5 separate regions of the Homo sapiens genome follow, and regions 1, 3, 4 and 5 are each linked to region 2. Evidence: promoter capture Hi-C in 16 types of primary human blood cells and fetal thymus (Javierre and others, 2016). All regions are on one chromosome and are shown on one strand. Each heading gives the region's core, a stretch centred on a gene start or on the middle of the fragment in contact. The rest is flanking DNA. Distances are from core to core; before and after follow the strand shown. Region 1 has its middle 4.4 kb from the start of INSC. Region 2 holds the start of COPB1 (coat protein complex I subunit beta 1). Region 3 has its middle 9.7 kb from the start of CALCB. Region 4 overlaps FAR1 (fatty acyl-CoA reductase 1). Region 5 overlaps FAR1 (fatty acyl-CoA reductase 1).

The links. The method cuts DNA at HindIII sites, captures the fragments that hold promoters and counts their contacts. A CHiCAGO score of 5 or more calls a contact.
Region 1: a contact is called between a fragment that was not itself captured here and the fragment with the promoter of COPB1 in region 2, in 1 of 17 cell types (total B cells). The highest score is 5.2, in total B cells.
Region 3: a contact is called between a fragment that was not itself captured here and the fragment with the promoter of COPB1 in region 2, in 1 of 17 cell types (total B cells). The highest score is 5.1, in total B cells.
Region 4: a fragment that was not itself captured here is called in contact with the fragment with the promoter of COPB1 in region 2 in 1 of 17 cell types (monocytes); the score reaches 6.0 in monocytes.
Region 5: a fragment that was not itself captured here is called in contact with the fragment with the promoter of COPB1 in region 2 in 1 of 17 cell types (M1 macrophages); the score reaches 5.4 in M1 macrophages.

Annotation. Positions count from the first base shown.
Region 1 is chr11:15,107,683-15,113,444 of GRCh38, reverse strand. It overlaps a transcript of INSC not described here. Among named protein-coding and RNA genes, the nearest start is that of INSC, 4.4 kb to the left of the region's middle. RefSeq lists an enhancer at 1-49. The HindIII fragment of the contact is 3,929 bases long and covers 1,649-5,577 here.
Region 2 is chr11:14,497,042-14,502,568 of GRCh38, reverse strand. It overlaps COPB1 (coat protein complex I subunit beta 1), which reads left to right and starts at 2,758. Exons shown (of 22, transcript NM_001144061.2): 1 at 2,758-2,862; 2 at 3,584-3,731. The coding sequence starts at 3,641. RefSeq lists an enhancer at 2,537-2,636. The HindIII fragment of the contact is 3,446 bases long and covers 1,915-5,360 here.
Region 3 is chr11:15,080,271-15,086,324 of GRCh38, reverse strand. No RefSeq gene overlaps it. Among named protein-coding and RNA genes, the nearest start is that of CALCB, 9.7 kb to the right of the region's middle. The HindIII fragment of the contact is 626 bases long and covers 1,361-1,986 here.
Region 4 is chr11:13,671,896-13,677,246 of GRCh38, reverse strand. The region is part of intron 1 of FAR1 (fatty acyl-CoA reductase 1); the gene reads right to left. Among named protein-coding and RNA genes, the nearest start is that of FAR1, 5.9 kb to the right of the region's middle. The HindIII fragment of the contact is 1,771 bases long and covers 2,335-4,105 here.
Region 5 is chr11:13,711,071-13,716,654 of GRCh38, reverse strand. It overlaps FAR1 (fatty acyl-CoA reductase 1), which reads right to left. Exons shown (of 12, transcript NM_032228.6): 6 at 4,847-4,891; 7 at 4,609-4,727; 8 at 3,622-3,689; 9 at 1,975-2,146. Among named protein-coding and RNA genes, the nearest start is that of FAR1, 45 kb to the right of the region's middle. The HindIII fragment of the contact is 5,924 bases long and covers 1-4,924 here.

The DNA of each region.
Region 1 (5,762 bases), core at 2,364-4,863, 610 kb before region 2:
GCTCACGCCTGTAATCCCAGCTCTTTGGGAGGCCAAGGTGGATAGATCACAAAGTCCGGAGATTAAGTCCATCCTGGCCGACATGGTGAAACCCCATCTCTACTAATAATACAAAAATTAACTGGGCGAGTTGTCATGTGCCTGTTACCCCAGCTACTCAGGAGGCTGAGGCAAGAGAATAGCTTGAACCAATGAGTCGGAGGTTGCAGTGAGCCAGTGAGCCAAGATTGTGCCACTGCACATCAGCCTGGCAACAGAGTGAGATTGCATCAAAAAAGAAAGAGAGAGAGAGAGAGACAGAAAGAAAGAAAGAAAGAAAGAAAGAGAGAGAGAGAAAAGAAAGAAAGAGGAAGGAAGGAAGAAAGGAAGGGAGGGAAGAGAGGGAAGGAAAGGAAGGGAAGGAAAGAAGTCTCCAATTCTTCCTCAAAGAAACCTGTTTTGCATCCTGCCTCTACTACTTTCTAGTGATGAGTCCTTGGACAAATCACTTAACCTCTCTGAGCATCAGTTTTCCCATATGTACATTGGGGAACATAAAAATCTCTGCCCAGCTCATGAGGTTGTTGAAAGTATGAAGTGAGGTCAAGGATGTAAAGCACCTGGAAAACTAAGATATTTTATTATATGCTAGAAATAGAATGAGGCTTAGATCATAAACAGATCGATGTTAGCAAAAAAGCCTCAAAGTTCTTTTATTTCCAGGCCCAAACTCTGTGTCTGGGTTTCAGGGTAAGAGAGGAACAGACTTGGTTTGTTAGATGTTCCCTGGAGGCACTTGGCATAAATGCCCCCCCCCCACTTCCCAATACACACACACACACACACACACACACACACACACACACACACACACTCACATCCACCTTCCCAGATACATACGGCACAGCACAGCCTCCTGGACTCCTGGACTCCCCATAGACCCCAGCCACCTGGACCTTCGCTGGCCGCCTCTCCATTGCCAGGGGGCCGTCTCATGGCTCCAGCCTTGGCTGCAGCGACTCCAAGTCTCCTTACAGAGGCCCCTGTGAACAGCTTCTTTCCCTTTGCCCACCCTTCTGGGCCATGGCCCTGAGAAGGCCTGTGACTCAAGGCAAAGCTTGTCCAAGGCAGTTCAGTACTGAGGCTGCCCAAGGGAGCTCAGAGTTGAAGCTTCCTCCCCCTCGACCCCCTCCCCTCTGTCTGCCTGACTTCTCAATGCTGTGCTGTCCTGCTTAATTCTTAATGGAAATTCCATCCCCGGCGCCGGCCCTAGCTGGCTCAGGGAGTCCAGGCTTGGGCCAACAGCAAACTCCACCAGAGAGACTGGGCCTGTCTGGCTATATAAACACACCTAAACACATATATACATGTGTGTATACACACACCAGCAGCAAGACATGCTCAGAGACATTTACAAACTCAGATATTCTCATCCAGACACATCCAGACACAAAGATAATATACATTCTAATCATTAACATTTATTGCATATACGAGAACTTCATAGGTATCAATTGCTCTAATCCTTAGAACAGTACTAGGTTCTGGTATTATCCCTATTTTACACATGAAGAAACTGAGGCCCAGGGAGGGCCTCAGTAAGTAACTTACCCAAGACATTGATAATAACAGCCTAACACATGAGCACCAGGAACTGTGCTAAGAAGCTTATGTGCATGTTTCATTTTGCTGCCATAGTAACCTTTTATAAAAGTTATTATTATCCCCATAATACAGACACAGAAAAGGGAGGCCAGGTGGTTTAAATCACCTGTCTGTGGCCTCACAGCTGGTGAGATGGAGACTCTACACAAATACACATGGGAATCCTTATGGATGCACAGAAAGACACACAGGTAAAGACACATGCACATGCTCAGAGGTGTACCCACAAATAGCTTATTTCACCTAAACCAAAGTAGGCGCCTCAGGACTGGTCCAGAGCTGTATCAGGCAAAGGTCCCCTCCAGCCTGACTCCACATTCTTCTCCTGTCCAGATGGCCTATCCCAGATCCACCAGCTTCACACATCACTTTAGGAAGGACAAGTTCAGACCTAAATGGAGGAAAGACTTCAGGTTTACACTGCAGTCTGCCAGGTTCATAGTCAACCCCCAGCCTCAGCTCCAAATTGTTCCCCCAGTATTCCCTAGATAGTCACTGAAAGAAGCCTCAGCTACACTCTTCTGAAGGGATCGCACTTCCAAGGAGGGAGCACCTCCGAGGCTCTGAGCACTGACCAGCCTCCAATGCTAGGATCCTGTCCTTCAGGCCCAGATGAATATAAACAGGGCCCTTGGGACAAGGCCTGGCACAGGAGCCCAAGCATTGGGTAGAGCAGAGCACGTGTTGCCCGAGGGAGTTGAAGTTATACTGTAGGAAGATGGCAAAACCCTGGTGGAACGAGAGGAGACAGGGATTGGGGCCAGGCCACTCCACCCTCTCCTGCATTTGTTCCACCACATACTTCTTGTGGCTTATTGGCCACGTAGGGGAGGGCAGAAAAGTCCTTTTCCTTTTGGGACAGGCAATGAAGTCCTGAGTCCAGAGAGTTGAGAGGACAGACATGCAGGAGAGATCCAAAGAGTTCAGTCCGCCAGGAGCTTATCCACTGCTTGAAGTTGCCATGCTATGCTAGGTATCTCCAAGGGGCAGGATGTGTGCTGGCCTCAGGCCTCCTTCTAAGCAGCCACAATAGAAAGTGCCTAAGAAGGCCTGTTATAGCCAGGGTAGTCTCTATTGTCTCTTGTGATTTCCCCTATCCCCAACCCAGAATTCCCCAACTGTTTCTGTTGTCACAAGCTCATCCACCCTGTAGTCAGAGAACATAGCCCAGCATGGCAGTCCCATGGGGCACCAGCATTGGAAGAGTTTTTTGAGGGAGGAGTGCTTAATCTCCACAAATGAATAAGGAATCATGGTGATTCAGGCAATAGCTCTAAGATGGGGAGATATTCTGAGCTGAAGAATTTGCATTTCTAAAAAGTTCCCAGGTGATGTTGATACTACTGATCTGGAGATCATGCTTTGAGAACCACTACTCTCTAGAATAAGAGAAAGTCAGGGATGATTCCAGTTCAAAACTAAATTTCCAACCTAATTACAGCATAAAGATGATCTCTTCTGAAAGCTCCTTAAATGTACAATCCTGGGCCAGGAGCAGCGGCTGACACCAGTAATCCCAGTACCACTTTGGGAGGCTGAGGTGGGAGGATAAGTGGAAGCTAAAAGTTCAAGACCAGCCTAAACAACAAAGCTATACCTCATCTTTGAAAAAAAATAAAAATAAAAAATTAGCCAGGAAAAGTGGTGTGCACCTGTGGTCCCAGCTACTCAGGAGGCTGAGGCAGGAGGATAGGAGGAAGACTGCTTGATCCCAGAAGTTCAAAGTTACAGTGAGCTATGATCACACCACTGCACTCCACCCTTGACAACAGAGTAGGACACTTTCAAAAAAAAAAAAAGAATTTTTAACCTTTTCAGTAGTTTGTACACTTTTTTGCCTAACTTTTCTCTTCCCAACTTCTGTGTCACCCCTGCCATCTATTGGTGGGTCTTTCATGGGCTCTGTCATGGCTCTCTCTGCCCCAGCACACCTCAAGACAAAAAACAGCATCCTCCACTCTGTCCTCTATCTGCACAGAGAAGTTATCAAGATGAGGGACCTGCACAAAAATAGCGATGGCCAGGCAGGCTCTCAGTTCCAGGGATGGAGATAAGAGATCAAAAGGTCATAGTGATAGCAGCTGAAATCCAGCCCCACCCTTAGAGATGAGCAATGGGCATGGGTCCCAGTATCCACAGCTGCAACCTCCAGTATCCCCCTGAGACGTGCACATCAAGATGCTGCCCTGCCCCCAGGATGGAGAGATAGGGCCCTCACAGAGGACAAGGAGACAGAGTACCAGACAGGCTGGTGCAGATGCATCATTAACTCACTTGGGCAATGGCATCTATCTCTCCAGGCCTTGCTCTGCAATTCTTACAAGAAGGAAAATGATCCCCAATTCCCAAAGCCAGTGTGAGAACTTGTAATATAATTAGAATGGAGAGACAGAAGGGACAGAAAAGCCCTCAGAGATCTCTGGATGCAGGGGTTCTGAAATTTTACGATCCACTAAAATCACCTGAAGGGGGGCAAAATGCAGAGTCCAAGGCCTCCCTCAGTGTTTCTGAGTCAGTAGGTGGGTGGTGTGCTGGAGCCCACATGCACCTCTCTTCCCGAGTGACGTTCAGTGACTTCACATTGTTAGCTTGAACTTGACCAAGGTAGAAGTATTTATTTACACTACAGAAATTGAGCAAACGCTATAAATTAGGGTGTTGTGTTTTGTTTTGTTTTGGAAAGCCTGTTGTTGATCACTTAGTAGCACACCATGGGACATTGTGGGTCTCTATTTTCTAGCATCCCAAGAAATTATGATGCAGGCCAACTTTGAGAAACACTAATCTAGTGATGAAGTTCTAACCCAAACCCCTCATGGTACAGATAAGAAAACTGAGGCCCAGGCAGGGGAAGAATCCCAGTCATGGCCTCTGTAGTAAGCTGCTCAGTTCAGGTTGGTGGGAGCTGGGGAGCAGCCCTGCCTCTTTACTTGACCCTGTCCTGTATACGTCTGCTCCACTGAATACCTGCTGAGGCTTATTGGCTACGTGGGGGAGGGTAGGAAAGTCCTGTTGCTTGTGAGCCAAATAGATTACTTCTTATCAGCATTTAGAATTTGAACTACCTGACCAGAGTGCCCTGGACAGCAGAAAATAAATTCCAAGGCTGCCTTGCCCTTCCCAAACCTTAACTATAATCTCTTCCTTGAATTTAGAGAGAGTCCCTAGTATCCTTCCAACAATGTCCATATGTGTCTTAGAGTAACAAGCAATAATCCCTTACTCACAATCAAGACCATCTTCAGAAATACAGCCACAGAGTAAATTAGTGAAAATAAGAACCCAAGATTCCTGCCCCTTTGTCTTTCCCCTACATCATGCCCTGCCCTCAGACGGGATGCCAAAGGACAAATTATTGTGCAAACATGCAACTCTCTAGGGTGGTGGTTTTCAAAGAGTGGTCCTAGACCAGCTATCTTGACAACACCTGGGATCTTATAACAACATGCAAATTCTCAGGTTTCACCCCACAGCGACTGAATCAGAAAATCTGTCACTACCGTCTAGCAAGCTGCATTTGAACAAGTCTCCTAGGAGATTCTGATGTCTGCTAAACTTTGAGAATTGCTCCAGTGGGAGGAGTCATAGCTTAGCCTCCCTAACAATGAAATAAAGGTTGTTCAGGTCAGGGAGGAAAGGCCATCAGGGTGTAAGACCAGCATGGGCTGTGTAGGGCCGGTCACACCACTTCCTCCCCAGCTTCCTTAACCCCATGTACCTGGAGAATCCCAAGAGACTAAGCAGTGGCTGTGCATCCTGAACTAAGATACAGTCCCCCTTTATGAAGCCTAAAAAGCAATACCTTTCCAAAAACAGCAGGACAACCTCAGCAAAGTCATGGCCAGGAAATGCTACTTCTGTCACTGCCTTGGTGCCTAACTGAGGAAGTGACTCACATTGGACCTTCCCTGGCTGTTTAGATTCCCAGAAGCTTGCTCTGTCTTGTCTGGAACAGCTTCTCAGGTCCTTCTGGAAGGAGGACAGCCTGGCTCCAAAAGCCATTTTGGCCTCTCCAGCTCAGAGTCCAGTGTTTCTTCCATTTCCTGTGCTCCCTTCAGGGAGAAAGATGGGTATGAAGGTAACTGAAGAAGTAAGGTCTCGGGAAGAGGGACAAAATT
Region 2 (5,527 bases), core at 1,509-4,008:
ATATACTGACTTTAGAACTTAAAGTCCTCCCCACTCCAGTAATACTCAACCCCACTGTATATACAGTTCATTGTGATGCCCTTTCATGTTTAGTCTGTTGTACTCACATATTCCATTTAGTCTGTTGAATAATTACAAACAGTAAAATCCTAATGATGTTTTATAAAGCCTGTCACTTTGATACAAAGATACTCAATTCACCTGGAATTTATTGAGCATGTATGTGTGCAGCTCTGAAGAACTGGCATGGAATAAAAGGCAGTGGCTGGGTGTGTTGGCTCACGCCTGTAATCTCAACACTTTGAGAGGCCGAGGTGGGAGGATTGCTTGAGTTCAGTTCAAGACCAGCCTGGGCAATATAGTGAGACCCCATCTCTACAAAAATTTTTAAAACTTAGCCTGGTGTGGTGGCACACACCTGTGGTCCCAGCTACTCAGGAGGCTGAGGTGGGAGAATCACTTGAGTCCAGAGTCTGAGGCTGCAGTGAGCTATGATCATGCCGCTGTACTCCGGCCTGGGTGACAGAGTGAGACTCTTGTCTCAAAAAAATAAAAATAATAACGTAGATGACAGGATTCAGGTCCTAGTTCTAACTCAGTGTTTGGCCATTACATGATTTGGGGCAAGTCCCTATTCTCTAGGCCTTGACTTTTTAGATACCACAATTTCTATGGTCCTTGATAAAATGACAAGGTCTTTGCTCTGCATTTATAATTTAAAGGCATTCAAAATTATATAATTACATCTTAGAGTAAAACAGCCCAAACAAAGTGTATTTTACAACAGATCAGGAAGAGTTAATGAGGTTAATATTAAGGTCCTTATACCCATTCAAAAAGCTTTGTACTTAAGAATATGGAAAAATATATGCACTGCCAATGACAATTGTAGGTTCAGATCTAACTAAAGTAATATGTAAAACATTACATTTTCTTGCCTTTTCATATTTAGAACTTAATGACTTGGGGTCATGAGAAACCTCAAAGTTATTCTGTAACAGAATGAACCTCTGGGGCAAATGAAGTCTGTACGGTTTAAGTCCTACACCATGATGGCCCTAAACTGAGCTTTCTTACTGTAAATCTAGTTTTTATACCTTTTTTGGCCTCATTTCTTGCTGACAGATTGTCACTTTTTGGTAAGTTAAGTGGGCTTGGAAACCAGATAACTGCATTTGTAAAACTTCCATGTTAAAAACGAATACACAGAAAAGGAACAAACTGTTGTACACACACCCGGGATTGATCTCAGGGGAATTATGCTCAGTAAAAAAATCCAATCTCAAAAGATTACATTGTATAATTCCATTTATATAACATTGAGATGATAAAAATCATAGAGAATTATTAGTGGTTGCCACAGGTTAGTGTGGGAGGTGGCTATGGCTATCAAAGGACAGCATGAGAATCCTTGTGATAGAACTGTTCTGTCTCGACTGTGTTGGTGATTACACACATATAAGCATGATAAAATTGTCTACAAGTGAATATAAAAACGAGTACATGTAAAACTAGTGAAGTCTGAACAAGGCTGGGTGAATTATGTCTGTCAATTTCCTGAAATTGATATTGTACTATAACTATGCAAGATGTTACCATTGGGAGAAACTAGGTAAAGAGTATATGGGATCTCTGTATTCATGTCACTCTACCATTAAGATTAAATATTAAAAAAAATGAATGCACAGAATCAGAGAGGCACTCTTAAAGTGCTGTCAACACATGGCCTTTGAATACAATTTTGGGTGCTCAAAGAATTTGTAGATTGCTTGATGGTTCTAAAAAGAGAAAGCTCAAAAGAGCTAGATCCTACATAAATGAGGTACTATTGGTGTTCCATCTTCCTGAGATGAACCTGTTAACTAGGGCAGTTGCCGTCAGATCTGTTTTTATTCGCAGTATTTTGCTTAAGCTTTAAGATATTTTGTTATTAATAATTGGCCATAAAACCCTTTTGTGGGCAGAGGGAGGTGTAGGGGCGGGGCGTGCTATGGAACTTCAAATGGGCAAAACCGAAAGTACTATGGCTGATTGCAGCTGTAACAGGTCTTTGGAGATACGTAAAATCCTTTAAAACAGTGACTGTCTCCCTTTATGCATAAAAATTTTTTCTAATCTACTGGGTGCTCAGAAAGGATCACGGAAAGAGGCCATTATTAAATAAAAAGCAGAAATTATACCAATGTGACTTTGGATTTTCAAATAACTCCAGCCCTACCTGCAGAGAGGCAGATTCAAACTACTAGCGATGTTAAGAACTGAAATGGATTTTAATCTAGTGATAATTAATAAAATAACTGAATTACCTTCCCAATAGTATTAGTTACTTTCCCAGTTTATTAGGGTGTGGACAAGAAAAAGGATTACTGGGTTTCCACTTTCTAGTCCAGAGCTCTTTTTCACGGGAACAGAGCCCTGTAAAAGTTTCCCTCTCTCCAAGCACTTTCTCCCCTTGACTGTTCCTGAAGAAGGAACGATTTCCAGTTAGCGTTTAAATTAGCATAGTGCTTAACTCAGAGCTTGGCTTGCAGGGAAAACTAGAAAATACGTGGTTTCATTGCTCTGCGGCCTAATCAAACCCTGGACAAGAGAAGAGGAAGAAAATAGGATATACTTGCAGCGCGCAAGCGCTGCACAAAGAAAGCATGTCCTCTCTGAGTCGCCGTAGGTGCTAGGTGGCTGTGGCTTCGGTCGTTACCCCACCCCCTTCCACGTCAGCCAAGGACTCTGGAGCCGCCGCCGCCGCTGCTGCGGTTCATAGCCGGAGTAGACGGAGCCGCAGTAGACGGATCCGCGGCTGCACCAAACCACTGCCCCTCGGAGCCTGGTAGTGGGCCACAAGCCCCCAGTCCCAGAGGCGTGGTGGGTCGGGCAGAGTCGGAAGAACTGGCTTTCTAGCTGGAAGATGCGGAAGGGGAGCGACTAGGCCGCTTGCGTCTGGGCCTGGCAGAAGGGACCGGGTGGGGGTACGGGTGGGGGTGCGGGTCGGGGTGGGGGCGGAGGGCTAGGAAGCTCCGGGTCGGACGCTCCATCCCGTCCTTTGTATTGGCCGGGGGTCTTTTCCCTCCCAAGACCCCTAGGCGTACCCTTTCAGGCCTAGGGCTGCTTTGCTGGAGGAAGGGGAGGAGGAAGCGGGTGGGGCGAGGTGGGGGTGCAGCGCGTTGATTAAGGGACCCGCGGACATAGAGTCGGAACCCACCAAGGACCGCGATAAAGCGCTTTAGGGTTTTGGCAGAGTATTCAGGCACAAGGTCTCTTAACTTGAGCATGCAGATTGTGTGTTGTGTAAAAACCATACGGTCCATAACATTGTGGGGTGTGGCTGGGGGGACTGTCACTGTTCTGTGGGCCTTCATTCGGCTATACAGCATTCTCAAACACTGGACCGGGATGCGATGAGGGAGTGATAGATAATATACCTTATGCCAGAGCTGATAATGTGGTTTTTACTAGAATTTATTTTTATGGGAACACGATATAGATTGACCTGCCCTTTCTAATACTTTAAAAGGTCACTATAGGTACTTGTTTGTGGGTTTTTTTTTTTTAATTTGTAATGATATGTCTGTGTTTATTTTTCTAGATTTTCTGGCATCCTTAAATCTTGTGTCAAGGATTGGTTATAATATAACCAGAAACCATGACGGCGGCTGAGAACGTATGCTACACGTTAATTAACGTGCCAATGGATTCAGAACCACCATCTGAAATTAGCTTAAAAAATGATCTAGGTAAACTTCGATATTATTTTGAGAATGAAATGAAAAAAGAAAAAACAAAAATAAAAAACTCATATTTCATATTCCTTTATAATTAGAAATGCTTAATTTTTGTCTAAAGTTTTTCTAGGATCTCTTCGATAGACCTTTTATTAAAAATGCGAACTTCTTTAAATATTGGTTGTTTGAAATAGAACATCTCAGTTTATCTTAGTAAACCTAAAGAAATTGTAATAGTTTAGATATTCCTCAAAATGTCATAATTTTTGTAGACTTCAATATATTAATGTGGCTGATTATTTTCTCTAGGCAACAGGTTGAGGATGTGTATTGGAATATCTTAATTCCATCGTGCACTTAACTTCATGTTACTTAGCTTGTAAAACCAAAAGAACTTTGTTCTTTGGATTACCCACCCAAACAATTAGGTGAACACTGGAATAAACATGTATTTTCCAGAAAAGTTTACCTTTTCATTTTTTATGCATTTTTGCAAATAAGAAAACAACTATATTTCTGAACTTTTTGTAATGTTTAATTTTTGGGGGTACACAGTAGATGTATATATTTATGGGGTACATGAAATGCTTTGATACAGGCATGCAATACATAATTATCACATGGAAAAATGGAGTATCCATCCCTTCAAGCATTTGTCTTCTGTGTGACAATCCAGTTACACTTTCAGTTATTTTTAAATGTCCAATTAAATTATTATTGACTGTAGTTACCCTGTGTGCTATCAAATATCGGGTCTAACTCATTTTTTCTGTACCCATTAACCATCTCCACTTCCCTACCACTACCCTTCCCACCTCTGATAACCATCCTTTTACTCTGTCTCCGTGAGTTTGTTTTGATTTTTAGCTTCCACAAATAAGTGAGAACATGTGAAGTTTGTCTTTCTATGCCTGACTTATTTCATGTAACATAATGACCTCCAGTTCCATCCATATTTTTGCAAATGACAAGATCTCATTCTTTTTTTATGGCTGAATAGTACTCCATTGTGTATATGTACCACATTTTCTTTATACATTTATCTGTTGGTGGACACTTAGGTTGCTTTCAAGTTTTGACTGTTGTAAACAGTGCTGCAACAAACATAGGAGTCCAGATATCTCTTTGATGTACTCATTTCCTTTCTTTTGGATATATACCCAGTAGTCGGATTGCTGAATCGTATGGTACCCCTGTTTTTAGTTTTTTGAGGACCCTCCAAACTGTTCTCCATAGTGGGTATACTAGTTTACATTCCCACCAACAGTGTACGAGGGTTCCCTTTTCTCCACATCCTCTCCAGCATTTGTTTTTGCTTGTCTTTTGGATAAAAGCCATTTTAACTGGGGTGAGATGATATCTCATTGTAGTTTTGATATGCATTTCTCTGATGATCAGTGATGTTGAGCACCTTTTCATATGCCTGTTTGCCAATTGTATGTCTTTGTGAAATGTCTGTTCAAATCTTTTGCCCATTTTTAAATCAGATTATGAGTTTTTTTTTTTCCTGTAGAGTTGTTTGAGCTCCTTACATATCTGGTTATTAATCCCTTGTGAGATAGGTAGTTAGCACATATTTTCTCCCATTCTGTGGGTTGTCTCATCACGTATGTCGATTGTTTCCTTTGCTGTGCGGAAGCTTTTTAACTTGATGTGATCCCATTTGTCCGTTTTTGCTTTGGTTGCCTGTGCCTGTGGGGTATTATTCAAGAAATTTTTGGCCAGACCAGCGTCCTGGAGATTTTTCCCAATATTTTCTTGTAGTAGTTTCATAGTTTAAAGTCTTAGATTTAAGCCTTTAATCCATT
Region 3 (6,054 bases), core at 424-2,923, 580 kb before region 2:
GTTAATATATGTTTATTATTGTTATACCTTCTTAGTGGTCATCCCTTTTATCATTATAAAATGTCCTCTTTATCTCTTGTATAATTTTTTGTTTAAAGTCTTTTGTGTCTAATATTACCGTAGCCACCCAGCTCTTTTTTTTCTTTTCAATAGCTTTTCGGGAAACAGGTGATTTTTGGTTACAAGAATAAGTTATTTAGTGGTGACTTCTGAGATTTTGGTGCACTCATCACCCAAGCAGTGTACACTGTACCCAATGTGTACTCTTTTATACCTCACTCCCCTCCCGCCCTTTTCCCCAAGTACCCAGAGTTTATTGAATGATTCGTATGTCTTTGCATCCTCATAGCTTAGCTCCCACTTATGAGTGAGAACATGCAATGTTTGGTTTTCCATTCCTGAGTTACTACACTTAGAATGATGATTTCCAATTCCATCCAGCTTGCTGCAAATGCCATTATTTCGTTCCTTTTTATGGCTGAGCAGTATTTCATGGTATATATATACACCACATTTTCTTTATCCACTTGTTGATTAATGGGCATTTGGGCTGGTTCCATATATTTACAATTGTGAATTGTGCTGCTATAATATAAACATGTGTGTGCAAGCATCTTTTTTCATATAATGACTTTTTTTCCTATGGGTAGATACCCAGGAGTAAGATTGCTGGATCAAATGACAGATCTATTTTTAGTTCTTTAAGGAATCTCCACATTGTTTTCCATAGCGGTCTCACTTGTTTACATTCCCACCAACAGTGTAAAAGTGTACCCTTTTCACCACATCCATCAGTTTTTTCTTTTTCTTTTTTTTCCTTTTTTTTTTTTGAGACGGAGTTTCGCTCTTGTTGCCCAGCCTGGAGTGCAATGGCATGATCTTGGCTCACTGCAACCTCTGCCTCCCGGGTTCAAGCAATTCTTCTGCTTCAGTCTCTCAAGTAGCTGGGATTACAGGCATGAGCCACCATGCCCAGCTAATTTTATATTTTTAGTGGAGACAGGGTTTCTCCATGTTGGTCAGGCTAGTCTCGAACTCCCAACCTCAGGTGATCCGCCTACCTCGGCCTCCCAAAGTGCTGGGATTACAGGTGTAAGCCACCATGCCCAGCCAATTTTTTTATTAAAAAATGGCCATAATTAAAATTTTTTAAAGTATGGCTATTCCTTAACCAAGCGCTATGCTATGATGTTTATGCCTTTGCATCTTCATATGCTTAGCTTAATCAAAAGTTGCAGACAATATTCTGATTCCCACACAACAAAGTAAGTTCCAGTTGGATTATAAGTATAATATGCCTGAAAAACCGTCTCTGACAATTTTGCCATTCATGGAGTTAAGGCACATATAAATAAAAGCTTGGTGTAGTTGCACATGGGGGAAGCTGTTTTTGAGGATAAAAAAGAAAGAAATTATAAAGGAAAATATTAATACATTTGATTGCCAAAAATTTAAATTAAAAATTTGTAAATTTAAATTAATGCTAAGCTATGAGGATGCAAGGCATAGAATGATATAAAGGACTCTGGGGACTTAGGGGAAAGTGCAGAAGGGGGGTTGGGAAAAAAGACTACGCATTGGGTGCACTGTACACTGCTCGGGTGATGGGTGCACCAAAATCTTAGAAATTATACCTAAAGAACTTATCCACGTAACCAAACACCGCCAGTTCCACAAAAACTATTGAAATAATAATAATTAAAATATATATATATTTAAAATTGAAATCATGCACAGAATTAAAATGTAAATCAAAGACAGAAAATTGAAAACTTCTGCAATATTTGGAAATTAAGGATAGATTTCTAAAAAACCAATGTATTAAAAAAATTTCTCAAATAAATTAGAAAAGATTTTGACTTGAATAAAAATTAAAATGTAACATAACAAAATTTATAGTTAAAACAATGCTTTGAAGGAAATTTATAACTTTAAATACTTATATTAAGGGAAAGAAAGAAAGGTTTCAAATCAACAACCTAAGCTTTCCCCCTAAGAAAATGGAAAAAGACTTTTATATAATAACCAAAGAAAAAAGAAGAAAGGAATAATAATAATAAAAGCAGAAATCAATAACATTACAAAGAGAAAACAAAGAAAAGCAATGAAACCAAAAGCTTGATCTTTGTAAAGATAATTAAATAATATCCTCTAGCCAGAATGACCAAGAAAAAAAGAAAAAGAAGACAAACTACCAATATCATTAATGAAAGAGAAGGTATTACTGCAGACCCTACAGACAGTAACAATAATAAAGGAATACTATGAATAATTCTGCCCATAAAGTCATCAACTTAGATAAAAATGAATCTATCCCTTGAAAGGCATAAACTACCAAAACTCACTCAGGAAGGAAAACCTAAATGGTATTATAAAAATGGTCCTATATATGCTTTAAATACATTTAATATATAGTTGAAAACTTTTCTACAAGGAAAATCCAGGCCCAGGAGGCTTAACTGGTAAATTATTACAAACATTTAAGGAAGAAGTAATACCAATTCTAAAAAATATCTTCCTGAAAACAAGAGAAGAGAATACTTCCCAACTAATTTTATGAGGCTAGCACTACCCTAACACCCTAAAAGCAAAAATATTAAAAGCACAAACTAATGCTCTCCTTGAACATAAACTCAAAATATTCTTCCACAAATTTATTAGCAAGTAGATTTCTGCAGTATATAAAAAGAATAATACATCACAACCAAGGGGAGTTTGTCCTGAAAATGCAAGGCTGTTTCAACATTTTTAAATCAATTAATTTACCATATTAACAAACCAAAGAAAAAAAATATGACTATATAAATAGATGCATGGAAAACACTTGGAAATTTTTCCTTTTTTTCTTTTTTTAACTTTAAAGTTCAGGGGTACAAGTGCAGGATGTGCAGGTTTGTTACATAGATAACTGTGTGTCATGGGGGTTTGTTGTATAGATTATTTCATCACTTGGGTATTAAACCTAGTATCCATTAGTTATTTTTCCTGATTCTCTCTATCCTCCCACCTTCCACCCTCCAATAAGCCCCAGTGTGTGTTGTTCCCCTCTGTGTGTCCATGTATTCTCATCATTTAGCTTCCACAAAAGTTCTCATATTAATCCATAATGATAAAAAAAACACTCTCAGCAAATTAGATATCAAAGGGAATGTTCTTAACCTGATGAAGAGCATCTATTAAAAAATTTATACTTAATATGTTTAATGTTGAAAGACTGTATTATTTATTGCTATGTAACAAACTACCCCAAAGCTTAGTGGCTTAAAACAACGATTTTTTTTTGGTCATAGTTTCTGTGGGTTAGGAATTTAGAAATGACTTAGCTGGGTGGTGCTTGTTCAAGGTCTCTCATGAGGCTGCAGGCAGGGTATCCACTGGGGCTACAGTCATATGAAGGCTTAACTGGCACCAACGAAGCTGATTGCAACCCCACTTTGCTCACACATGGCTATTGTCAGGACGCCTCAGTTCCATGCTATGTAGGCCTCTCACAGGTGCTTGAATGTCTTCACAAGTCATCTGACTTCCCCCAGAGTAAGTAACCCAAGAAAGAAAGCAAGGAGGATATTATAATACCTTATATGCTGCTCTAAGCACATGTCACATACCATCTCCTCTGTCACATTCTATTGTTAGAAGCAAATCAGTCAATAGAATTTACACTTAAGGGAAGGGGATGTTGACTCCCAATTTTAAAGGAAGTAGTACCAAAGAATGTATGGACTTTTCTTTAATATCACCACAACGATTGAGTAGGATGTCTGCACTTATTACTCCAATTCAACATCATACTGGAAGTTATAGCCAGAGTAATATGTCAAGAAAAAGAAATGAAAGATAAGCTGATGTAAAAGGGAGAACTCAAACTAACTCTACTAGAAGAAAAAGTAACTGTCTACATAGAAAACCCTGAAAGAAACAACAACAAAAAAAACCTCATAGAATGAATAATTGAGTTTAGCAAGGTCACAGAATACAATGTTAATATTTTAAATATTGTATTTCTATCTACTAGCAATGAACAATTAAAAACAAAAATGTTTAAGTACCATTTACATTAGCACCAAAAAATAAAATAGTTAAAAATCTAACAAGATATGTGTAGAATATTTCTGTTGAAAACTGAGAACACTGTTAAAAAAAAAAAAACAGAGAAAACCTAAATAAGTGAAAACATGTATTGTGTTCATGAATTGAACGACTTAATATTATTAATATGCTAATTCTCCCAAAATTAACCCACTGATTTAACACAATCCCATTAAAAATCTCATCAGAAATTTTGTAGATAGTAACACACTGATTCTAAAATGTATAAAAGATGTAGAAAATATTTTAGATGTAGCTAAAATCTTTTTGAACAAGAATGAACAATGTTGGTAGACCCACATTACCTGGTTTTGAGATTCACTTTAACACTACACTAATCAAGGCAGTATGACATTGGCAAAAGAATGGTCAAATCAATCAATGAGACAGAATTGAGAACCCAGAAATATACCCACACAAATATGATCAGTTGCTTTTTGACAAAGGTGCAGGGGCAATTAAATGGTGAAATAACAGTCTTTTTAACAAATGGCACTGAAACAATTGGGTATCTATATTCACAGGTATGAATTTCAACCTACACCTCTCACCTTATACAAAAATTAACTCAAAATAGATCACTAATCTACATATAAAATATAAAACTATAAAACTTTTACAAGAAAGTATAGAATAAGGTTATTGTGACCTTGGGACCTTAGTTAGGCAAAGAGTTCTTAGACATGAACTAAAAGCACAATACATAAAAGAAAAAAAAAGATGAATTGGATCTTATTCAAATTACAACTTTTTCTCTGTGAGAGACACTGCTAAGAAAATGAAAAAGCAATCCGCAGATTCAGGGGAAGGAAGTTTCCAAACTATATATCTGAAAACAATCTTGCATCCACAACATATAAAGAGCTCTAAAAACTCAACACTAATAAAGCAAGCAAGCCAACAAAAATTTAGCAGAAGATTTAAACAGACCCTTCAATAAAGGTGATAAACATATGGTAAAATAGATGCTCAACGTCATTAGTCATTGGGGAAATACAAATTAAAACAGCAATGAGATACTGCTACATACCTATTTGTGGAAATACTAGAGCTCTCATATGTGGCTGGCAAGAAGGCGAAGTGGTACAGTCACTTCAGAAAATAGTTTGGCAGTTTCTTACAGAGTTAAATACACACTTTCCAAATAACCCAGCAATCCCACTCCAAGGCATTTACCCAAAATAAATGAAAATGTATTGTATTAGTTTCCTAGGGCTGTCATAACAAATTACCACAAACTTTGTGGCTTAAAACAACAGAAATTATTCTCTCACAGTTCTGGAAGCTGGAAGTCCAAACTCTAGGTGTCAGCAGGGCTGCTCTTCTTCCAGAGACTGTTCTGTGATTCTGGCTTCTGGTAGACACAGACTTCCTTGGCTTGTGCCTCCTTGCCTCTGTCATGTCACCTTCTCCACATGTGTCTTCTGAGTGAATCTCTTATAAGGATATGTCATTGGATTTAGGACACACCTGGATAATTCAGGATGATCTCATTTTAAGATTCTTAATTACATTAGCAAAGACCCTTTTTCCAAGTAAGGTAAAAACATAGGTTCCAGTGATTAGGACATGGACACCTTTTGGGTGCCCTATTCAGCCCATTACACTCATCTTCACACAAAAATCTATCCATGAGTGTTTATAGCACCTCCATTCATAAATTCCAAATGAGAAACAACCCAAGTGTCCTTCTTTGGGTAAATTGATAAATCAACTGTGGCACAATGCAAGAATGTAATACTACACAGTAATAAAAAGAAGGAAGTAATTGATATATCCAATGACATGGATCAATCTCAAATGCCTTTTGCTGAGTAAAAGATAGACCAAAAAGCTACATGCATATGACATTCTCGGGAAGGCAAAACTATAGGGACAGAAAACAGAACAGTCATGATCAGAGGCTGAGGGTGGAAGGAGTGATTGACTGCAAAGGGGAAACATGGAAGAATTTGGGGAAGGAAT
Region 4 (5,351 bases), core at 1,971-4,470, 830 kb after region 2:
TGTAACTATGGGTTATTATGTTAAAGATGGAAGGAGTATATGATGGCAAAGTAAAAACATTATGGTATAACATTTCAGGGAATTCTTAGCCAATTTACCAATAATCTAGTTACCATGCTAAAGTTAATATACTTCCTTCTCCAAATACTGAGATCCAGAATGAAAAGACAAACAAAATAAATAAGCACAATAGACTTACCAAAAATCAGGTAATGAGAAACAACGCTGTTGGGATTGCCATAACCAACAGACCTTAGGCAAGTCAACCTCTCTGATCACTCTTTAAATTTATTGAAGGAGAGGCCAGATCACTGATTGTTAAAATCTCTTCTGGCTTTCACAGTCTGTATTTTTACTACTATGTATTGGAATAAGTTGTTTCCTACTAGTAGATTAGGTACTTGAAAAATTATTAACTCCAACAGGTCACAAGGGTATCACTTTAAAGCAATTCACCTAATATTCACTGAACTTCGAACAGTCTGTGCACAGCTCTGTGGGGTCAAATGTCCCATTACCAGCTAATTCACCTGTTCCTATCTCCTGAGAATTCTGCTTATGCTCATAATCATTATCATAATTACATTTTAATTACAATCCACAAGTTTTTAAAACCACCTATTTCTAAGAAACTCATTTAGGGCCATTCCTCAAACTAAGTGAACTATGAGCACTTGTATCTCAGGGCTCCACTGAGAATCAATCCTTTGTCAGCCAAAAACAGTTTCTAAGCTCCTGCATTACTTCTGGTTGTTTCAACACAGATGTGAACCTCAAAATACTTTAGCAGATCCTTTCCTCCACAGATCTTAACTGCCTAAGGACACAGTAAGTCAAAGTTTTTACTTCTGGGGGAAAAAAAGGTATTTATGCATTTATTCATTCATATGTCATATATTCTACTTCCTGTTAATCCAGGATGGACAGGAGCCATAAATAAAGTACCACATGCTTATTCCAAAATCTTTAGTGAAATAATTCCTATTTATTAAACTGGCTACAGCTTGTTTTTCCCCAAGAATTCAATTAAGAATGTCTAATTTTTTAATTAGGCATTTGCAATAATAAGCTTTATCATTTTATCACTCTTAATAATTAAAAACACTTGTTTGTAAAAGGCAAGCAGAACACACAGAAAGATAATTGAGTTGAATTTTAGCAGTATGCTTTCTGCCTACACATTAAAGAATAAATTATTAAGACAGAATCCACAGACCCCCCAAGGATATTTGAACGTACATTTTTCTGATGAGATAGCACAACACTTTGAGGAGATGCTCAGAGAAGTTCATGACCTTTGACAAGCAATTTCTGCATTAGGGAATATACTTTAAGATTTTATTCTCAGAATACTTCAAAATAAGCTATAATGGTAACAATTCCCTAAATTCAAGGATTTCTCATGAATTATGCCAACATTTCTGGAAAAAATTTCATGTAAGACAAGAATGATCTAAACTAGATATTTCAAAATAATCTTAAAATTGTCAAATAGTTAACATTTAAGTTAAACACACACACACAACTGCACACCAAAGCTGATGGCACAAACCCACAAACATTCTAACAAGAATGGATCCATTAATACATGTGGTATTAAGATATTTAGAAGGCTTTTTAACAGAACGTGCCAAAAAATTAACCACGAACAGTGATATATTCACAAAGTAGTGTGTCCTAATTTCTGCTACAGCAACCGGCTTTGTTCAAGTTCTGATATAACATCTACAGTATGCCAATTACATGTTGTAGTAGTCTAAAAGATAAAGATAGAGAGATACAGATTTAGATATAACTTATTCTATAGCGCCAAAATTAGATTTCCTAACCGCACGCTTTATCCATGTGATTACCCTCACCTTATCCCTGAATGTTCTTTCTCTCTATCGCCACTTGTTTAAGTTCTACTTTCATTCTAAAATAATGTCAGTTCCCACTTAAGAGTCTCTACCACCAATTTTGGCACATGATCCAGTGTTGCTACATTCTGTTTCACATATGTACAGTCTCTTCAATTATATTATCCCTGCCCTACAGTAGCTTACTATATCTAATTTCTCGTGCCCAGAACAGTATAATGCTCAAGTCTCAAAATATATTTATATGAACAAATTTGCACCTCACTTGGATTAACATGTCTATTATTATACTTATCACACTGCATGGTAACAACTGGTTAAAAAAAAAAAAAAAGTCTAGGGATTTGCTTCAAAATAAAGAAGGAAGTGGATGGAGGTATGGATGAAGCAAGACTGACCACAAGTTAGTAACTCTTAAAGTTGGTGATGTGTGTATTATTGCTGTCAATTTTCCATAATACAAAGTTTAGAAGCTTGCCTCTCCTACTAGTAAGAGGGCTTCTTAAAGACAAGTTCAAGAGTGTTCTTCTTTGTACATCTATCCAATACAGAACAGACCAATTGAACTTTACTAAACACGTTTCATTCTTTAGGTAGAACTACTTTTCAATGAAACTTCAACATCTTTTTGACGGTACTTTATTTAAAAAATTTTTCATTAGCTCAAATAAAACATATATTCACTCATTCATTATTTTCTGGGTCCCTGCTTCCTAAGATATGCTGTCCTGGTAAATGTAGGATACCAAAAATAATTTATCCTCTCTACTAAATTAAGAAGGGAAAGAAGGAAGATTAAAAGAAAATATTGTAAAATGCAGTAATACAGTTTTTAAGAAAGGCATCTAGGGCATCTATGTTTTTAATTAGAAAGAAGGCATACAACCTATTCAAGGAAGACGGGCTTAAAATTTCTCCTCCCCCTCCATTTTACAGATGAGGAAACTAAAGCCCATAGAGGGGAAGTGACTTGCCTAGCAAGTTACACATCAAGTAGCTAACAAAACCAAAATTAAAGCTCAGATCTGCTGATTCACAGTTCAATTTGAATTTTCTTTTTTTCTTTTTTTTTTTTTTTTGAGACGGAGTCTTGCTCTGTTGTCCAGGCTGGAGTGCAGTGGCGCTATCTTGGCTCACTGCAACCTCTGCCTCCCGGGTTCAAGCAATTCTTTTGCCTCAGCCTCCCGAGTAGCTGGGACTACAGGTGGGCGCCACCACGCCCGGCTAATTTTTGTAGTTTTACTAGATGGGGTTTTCACCATATTGGCCAGGCTGGTATCGAACTCCTGACCTCATGATCCGCCCACCTCGGCCTCCCAAAGTGCTGGGATTACAGGCGTGAGCCACCGCACCCGGCCCAATTTGAATTTTCTACATCATAATGCTTTTCTGTACACTGTAATGTTAACTAATGAAAGAGAATGAGTTATTTTATTGGTAGTATATATTTCAATTATTTATTAAATCATATTTAAAAAAATAATAGGATAAGATGGGGAAGGCTGGGAAGAAAAAGTGCACAACAAATTGGTAAGATACTTATGTGTGAAAACTACAGGCATATGCCATGCTTCATCAATTTTGAGATACATTTAAGACATAGTAACCATTTCACAAACATTTTGAAGTAAATATAGACAATATACATCTTCAAAAAATTCTAAAATATGAAAACATACATCTCTAAAGCAAGAAAATATAAGGTATCCTATTAGACACTAAAAAATCACTGTCATTTATTTAGAGGCAGTGTCACAGAGCACAAACACTCAGAGCAAGAGTCTCATCTTCTAAGGTAACAAATACCTAAGGCTTGTGGCATTTTTTTTCAGTTGAAGGTATAAATCAGTCCTCCGTGCTATTAGTTTCACAAGCATGGAGTTTTGGAGTTAGACAAAGAAAGGTTTGAATCCCAGCTCTGTCACTTAGCTCTCCAACCTTGGAAAGTTACTAACTTCTCTGAGTCTCACTCTCCTCATCTGTAATATGGTATTCACATTTTAGAGAATTATATGAGAATCAAATGTGGTAATTTGTTGAAGGATTATGCTACAGTGCCTAGATGAAATAGGAATCACATTAATATCGTTTCCTCTCAGAATCCCTATGGGCTAAGTGAAATTAAACTAAAAGCTAGATGAATTTACGCAACTCTTTCCTCTCTGTTTAGGAGACTGTAATAAGTCTGTACTGATCCTAGGGCAAATCCTATTGGTTTGGGAATCATTCTTTGAATAAGAAAAGCTTATTTTCTTGACTTCTGTCTCCACTCTTCAAATTGGGAACCGAAAACAATGGTGAATTTATAAGTGTTTAAGTTGATCAGCTATATCTAAATCCAGCACTTCCATTTTGTCTTACTGAACTGAAACTCTAAGCCTGTTGCAAACCCATTAATGAGAGGAACTATAGAACCAATGTGTAGGAAGAAGGATATAAAGCCAAAAGAAGCAGTTAAAATGACACAATTCTATCAGTGGTTTGTTGGGTTTTTTTAAACCTTAAATTCATGTATTAAACTCTAAGAAAACAAGTGTTCAGGAAAACAAAGACTGTATCTCCACCATTCAGGGTGGGTTAGTAACTTGATCCTTCAGGTTAAGCAAATACCACCTTTCAGTACATACAGTTTCAGTTTCCATCAGTGACAATCCAGTCATTTCCAAGATAGGAACACACCTACCAAGGTGGCTCTTACCAAGTAGGGACTGAAATAAGACTATCTTCTCTCCTACCCCAAGTTCAGACTAGCCTACCCACATTTTCCTGAGTATTAGCTCATTTCAGTTGAATGCTTGTCCCCACTAATTATAAAAATAATGCTCACTTTTTTTTTTTTTTTTGAGACAGGGTCTCACTTTGTCACTTAGGCTGGAGTACAGCGGCATGATCAAGGTTCACTGCAGCCTCAACCTCCCAGGCTCCCATCTCAGCCCCCCAAGTAGCTGGGATTACAGGTGTGCACACCACCTTGCCCAACTAATTTTTTTTTTTTTTTTGGATAGAAAAGGGGTTTTGCCATGTTGCCCAGGCTGCTCTTGAACTCTTGAGCTCAGGCGGTCTGCCTGCTCATTTTTTTAAATTTGAAAAAACTAAAAAGTGCAAGCATTTTAAAGCATCCATGATCTTCCAGCCAAAGATTAAAACATTACAAGGGGTCATACCATCATCTTTCCTATGAATCTGACCATAACTGTGAAAATATTTAAATTTGTATAGAGTACCTGCCACTAAACACAATTAACTACCAGCCCAAACATTAATATCTTCATTCCAGCTTTCTTGTGACTAAATTCACATTACTTTTTTACTTACTTAACTCAATGGTTTCTTCTCAATCGTTCTGAGTCTCTCAGCTATATACTTTGTTGCTAACCACCACCTCTTTAAAACTCTATCCCAGGTTTCTCTAAACAGTGTATTCCTCAGTATCTACAGAAATCTCTCCAACTAATCTTTTTCTTTCTTCACTGGCTCTTCTTACATAAACTG
Region 5 (5,584 bases), core at 713-3,212, 790 kb after region 2:
TCCACCTTACTTGCTAAAAGACTTCCCCCTTGAAGCCATCAGCTGCTATATAAGAAGTCTAATTCCCCTAAGGCTATCATTAATCCTTGCAAAGAGCTATATGGAGAGATCCTTATGACACGACAAAGAGTAACATCAGTCCCCTTGCTGTTCCATTGCCTCTCTGCCCACCGGCCTCTTTCATCTGATCACAAACACATGAAAGACTCCAAGCCAAAACTGCCCAGTGGATTCTTTCTCAAATTCTTGATCCTGACAGAAATAATTGAAAGAAATAATAAAATAACTGTTGCTGTTTTTAGCTTCTAAGTTTGAGATGATTTGTTATGCAGCAACATCTCCTCTGAAGCATTTAGTAAACCAGCTATTCACTTATTTTTTTAAAATTTTACTAAGCCCTCTTTCTTCGTGTAAGGCAATGTGATGTATTTAACCTGTTTTTTTTTTGACCCAGTTTTTACTTTTCTGTCCTAAATTATAACAACCTTATTAATATAAAGAAAGCATGCACTGCCACCATTCATGAATTTACATCTGCATTTTAGCCATGAAGAATGCTTCCAATGGCAAGTATTGCATTTTGCAGATCATTCTAGAAAAGTCTGAAAATATTTCTTTACCTGCTCTAAAGTTGTTCAACACCTCTCACATATTTCAATTAGCTAACATATAGGGTTAGAAACATCATGGAAAAGTGAATCCACAGACAATACCTACGAGGAACTCAGATCCTGATACACTGTAACTGGCAGTTACCTCACTTTTATTTTTTGAGTAGTTGATGGAAGTTCTGGGATCAGCATCTTCTTTATACAAAAATACTCAAATCCTGAACTCTCCAATCAACGACTCCACTGTAATGCCAATGTAGTTAAAAAAAATTAAGTATTTTAATAGTATATTCCACTGTAATTGTGTGGTAAAGACAGTAGGAGATCTTTAAGTTTGCGGGATTTCAACAAAAAAAAGAAAGAAAAGCTATAACAACGATAAGAAAACAAAGTTTTCTGTTTATTATTAACTTTTTTTTCATAACTATGCCATTCCCAACCTGGATAATTAGTCAAAAACTGAAATAACCATATTATAAGCTGAATGGGCAGCTGAGATATTTCAAGTAATTTTCTAGAAGCATCCTATATTTTTCACATAAAACTGCACCATCCATTTGAAGCAAAACTTTTGCCCTTAATCCCCTATACAAACTCATCCCTAGGTTTTTAAGAGGGAGAGAAGGGCTTAATTTCAGCTTATAATAACAATGACAACCATGATGTAGGACATTTCCTATATTATGGAATTTTGGAGGATGAACGACCCAATACGATGTGATCCATAGTTAGTGTCCCCAAAGATCTCCAAATTCTAAGAAATGTCCTAGCATTCTGATTGTGATTAATCAGGTGAGTAAATCTAAAGGTAAAGCTCATGCTAGTGATTTTTTTCATCTCTCCAGCAAGCTGCCACCACCTTACCAATACATAGTGTATTTACTGCTATTCTTCTTACCGCGGTTTCTGACCTGTCAACATGAGTGCAATCGAGCAATAATGCAGATACTCTATGGCTGACACCCTTCCGATAATGATGCGATAGGCTGTTGGAATTAAACTTAAAACTGGGGCACCTGAATACTTGGTTTAAAGGATTCATCTTGAAGGAATGACTTACATAATATCCTGTAGGAAAAATAAGCGTCAAAGCAATTTAAATATTGTTATTCAGAAAGAAGCCTAAAGTAAGACTTAGAATTCAATACATGACAATAACTTATCCAAACTTTAAACAAATTAGAGTGACTTACAACACTACCTTTGCTTTTCTGACAAAGTCTTAAATTCAAGAGGCTTCTCATTCACAAAAGGCTATTAAGCCTTATCATAAGCATAAACAAATACAGAGTTAATATGCATTTTAGTGTAAGCATGGGTTGTTTAACAGAGGAACAGATAAGACAGAGCTAGTCACCATTACCTTGGGCTTCTTCCAGTCATCCTGAGGTAGATATCATACAGGAATGCTGGGGCCTTATGGCTTACAGCAATCCAGTAATGATATAAAAGATGATTGGAGGTTAGATTTACATTGGGCCGTCTGAAGGCCTGTTCGAGAGGATTCCTCTTGAAAGTGGAAATTACATGGTACTCTGAAGAAGAAAAGTTGTGTAACAGCTTTGATAATAACCATGTAATGAAGTTTTGAAAAAAAAAAATCATGTTTTTATAATGCAAAATATTTTACCAAAGATGTCAGAGTTCGTACATTTAAAAAACAAACTTTTCTACTCTCTAGTAGCTAAGAGAATATGGTTATTAGACTGCTAAACTCAAGTGGTTTTGTAACTGCCGCTATTTATGAATTTTAGATGAATGAATTTTTGCTAAAATTCACTCTTAAAATCCTTTTAATGTTTTACCTATGTCAGTTTACAGTGTCACTTTCTATATTTCACCTCTCACGATAGCTTCTTCCTTTCTGTTCCTCTTTCCAGACTCTTATTACTGTACTTACTTAAAAAAGAAAAGGAAAATAATCATCCTTTGCTTAAGATGCTCAAATTAACATACATTAACAGGCTTAAAACAACCCAAAATTAACTTCTGTTGTAATTTATATAGGCTATGTAATGTCAACATAATCAAACCTAGTATCATCTATATTAATACTTTACTAGAAATGTATATTGAGATAGTCACTAAAATATAACGCTCAATTTCAGCTTTTACTAAACTTTATAACACAATAAAAGATTACAAAAAAACCTAACTCATTAAAAATGTTTAAATATTCTTAAAAGAATACTGAAAATAATTATCATAAAGTTAAAATCACCTTAGATTTTATCTTTTTCTTATATGCTCTAATGGTCAATTTTACACTGAAATAAAAATGCCACAGAAAAATCCTAGGACAAATGTCATAAAAAATCTACATTGAAATCAAAATTGTTCTGCAGGGGTAATTAATCAATTAGAGGTTAAATAAGACCTATCACTAAATCAATGCCAAAAAAATTTTACTTTAAATTTGAACTCATCAACCAACAATTTAAAATTGACTCAATTTCAATGGGTTTTAACTATTCCTATTTAAGTTATGCTATTCCTATAGAACTAGGAACATGTATATCTGCTGTGAATCTGTGAATTTAAATAGATTAATACAGGTTAATAGAAAATATTCTGGCAAACTGTATCCTACTTCCTAACTCCTTCATTTATTACTCTGGGTACCACTTGATATACCACCTCTTGTAAGAAGTGATACTGCCTATGGATAGGCAACATCAAGACTGAGGGTGCTCACAAGGGAGAAAAAAAGCACTGTTCCCATGCCATAGGTATCTACGAGGGCTACTGCAGATGGCAGGAGAAAAACAGCAAGGCTTAGACAAGGGTAGGGTGGGTGGGTAAGAATAGACAGCAGTATATTTTTAAATTTGTGAAACATTATTAAGGACCACAAGGTAGTATTGGTAGATAATACTTCTAAGACGACAATTAAGAACAAATTGGTAACTCAGTGGCCTTAATGCCTCATAGGTATTCTAACATTAAAACTTCAGGGAACTTGGTTCTTTAAGATTTATTCTAACATTCAAAAACACAGGTAAAATCATACCAACTTCACCCCAGTGGAAAGGATTAGTGCTGCCTGTTGTACAATTATACACCATGATGTTTCTTGGTCTGCAAAGACAAAGATGAAACCAATTAATCATAATAAGAGGCCAAACATATCCAATCTAAGTCCTACATAGTATTCAAGAAGACATGAGGATGATGGGCACCTTTTCTATACTATTTTTTTTTAATTATCCTTAAAGGATTAGTTTTTACTTTAATGACTATTTACAACTACCCTTTCTTCTTCCCCTACCAAAAATAATAACTTATTTTAAAAAATACAGACTTTTTTCTTTCACATTTTTCCTCCTTATATTAGCAGGAATGTCTATTTTTAAACACGAGGAAAACAACAAATGACCTCAGCTCTTCTTGTCTCATTTTCAGAGGATCTAGCTGAAAAAAAATTATGGACTAAGTTTCCTTTTGCCAGAAACAACATATTCATATAATCCTATCTCTCTTTTTTTAGGACAGAAAATACTGATTATCAAAAATAAGGGTAGTTTACTACCTAGAAAAAAAAAGTTATTGGGAAGTTTAAAGTTTAAGTGTTACCTGTAAATGCTACTATTATTTTTTAAAGGAAAGATGTTCATGGGCTGATTAAAGCTGCTCTGGTGTACCATGTTTAATATATGTAAACCATATTCTGTGAATTTCAGCTCTTTATATATTCAACAAGTTTTAGTTTGGATTAAAAAATCATGCTTAGGGGAGGGTATTTTTTTTTTTTTCATTTTTAAGTGAACTTGTCTATCCTGTAAGTAATACATGAGCATTAACATTAATTCTTCATTACTACTGATGGGAGCACTTGCTATTGTCTGTGATAATACCAACTCTTGGAGTTGGCAGTGATACAGCCTAAATATTGGTATGGCAATATCTGGATAGAGGGATTAATTAACATTACTCAAAAGCTATGTCTTCCCTTTTCAGTTACTATATATTTAATAAGCGACATTGTCACCTCATATACCTATTAACTCCGGAATACCAGGCTGCCGCAAGACTCATGTTGACAACTACATCTACAGGAACAAGATCTGCAAGGGCATTGTTGGAGGCACGTATTGTTCGAAGAATTCCTTTCCCTGCCTTTGTTGAAATTAAAAACAACACCTTAAGATATATAAGCCATAGTGTATATATATTTAAAGATATACAAAAAGCAGAAAAATGTATAGAATATTAAATAAATCAAAAGGTTTACTTACCGCAATAAAGAGACCACTTGGTCCATTAAAGTTATCAATCCATCCCTAATACCAAAAATTTTAAAAGGGAGAGAAGCTTAGAAACATTATGAAGCTAGAGATTTATTATTTGAACTCTACAACCCCAAATATATACTTGGTAGCTGTCTTCTAAAAACTAAAAAACAGACTAGATTCAGGCCAGACTATTTCTACCAGTCCCAAACAGAAGCAGTCTTCCTCTGGGATCAAAAATAATTGAGTAAAATCATTTTCAAAGGGCTACCTACTACTCTTCCATTAACTCTCTGCAAAGAGAAATTTATAAAAGAGGGTTTATATTGTTGAATATTTTTACAAAATTAAGCTTGTTCAAGTTTGATTTTATGCTATTTACTAATTCAATAGCCTGAGATTAGGGAAAATGGTAAATCCTCCTCAAAATTATGAATAAAACAGAGAAAAATAGAATAATTGTCAAAGCAACAACAGATGCTATCACTTACTACCATTACACAGACCTAGGTTTTGCCTAAATCAATTGACCCAACTGGTTTATATTTCTGCTTTCTCTCATTCCAGGAATTCACAAATACCCTAACACCCTGTACCTTTTTTACTTTGTGATCTACAGAGGAAGGGGTCTACCTCCTGGAAGGTCTGCCTCTTTTTGCTACTAAGAAACAAACCAAATCTCCTCTGACTTAAGAAAATGTCACAGCTTTTAATTTTCACTTAGGATTTTTTAAATGTTGATCT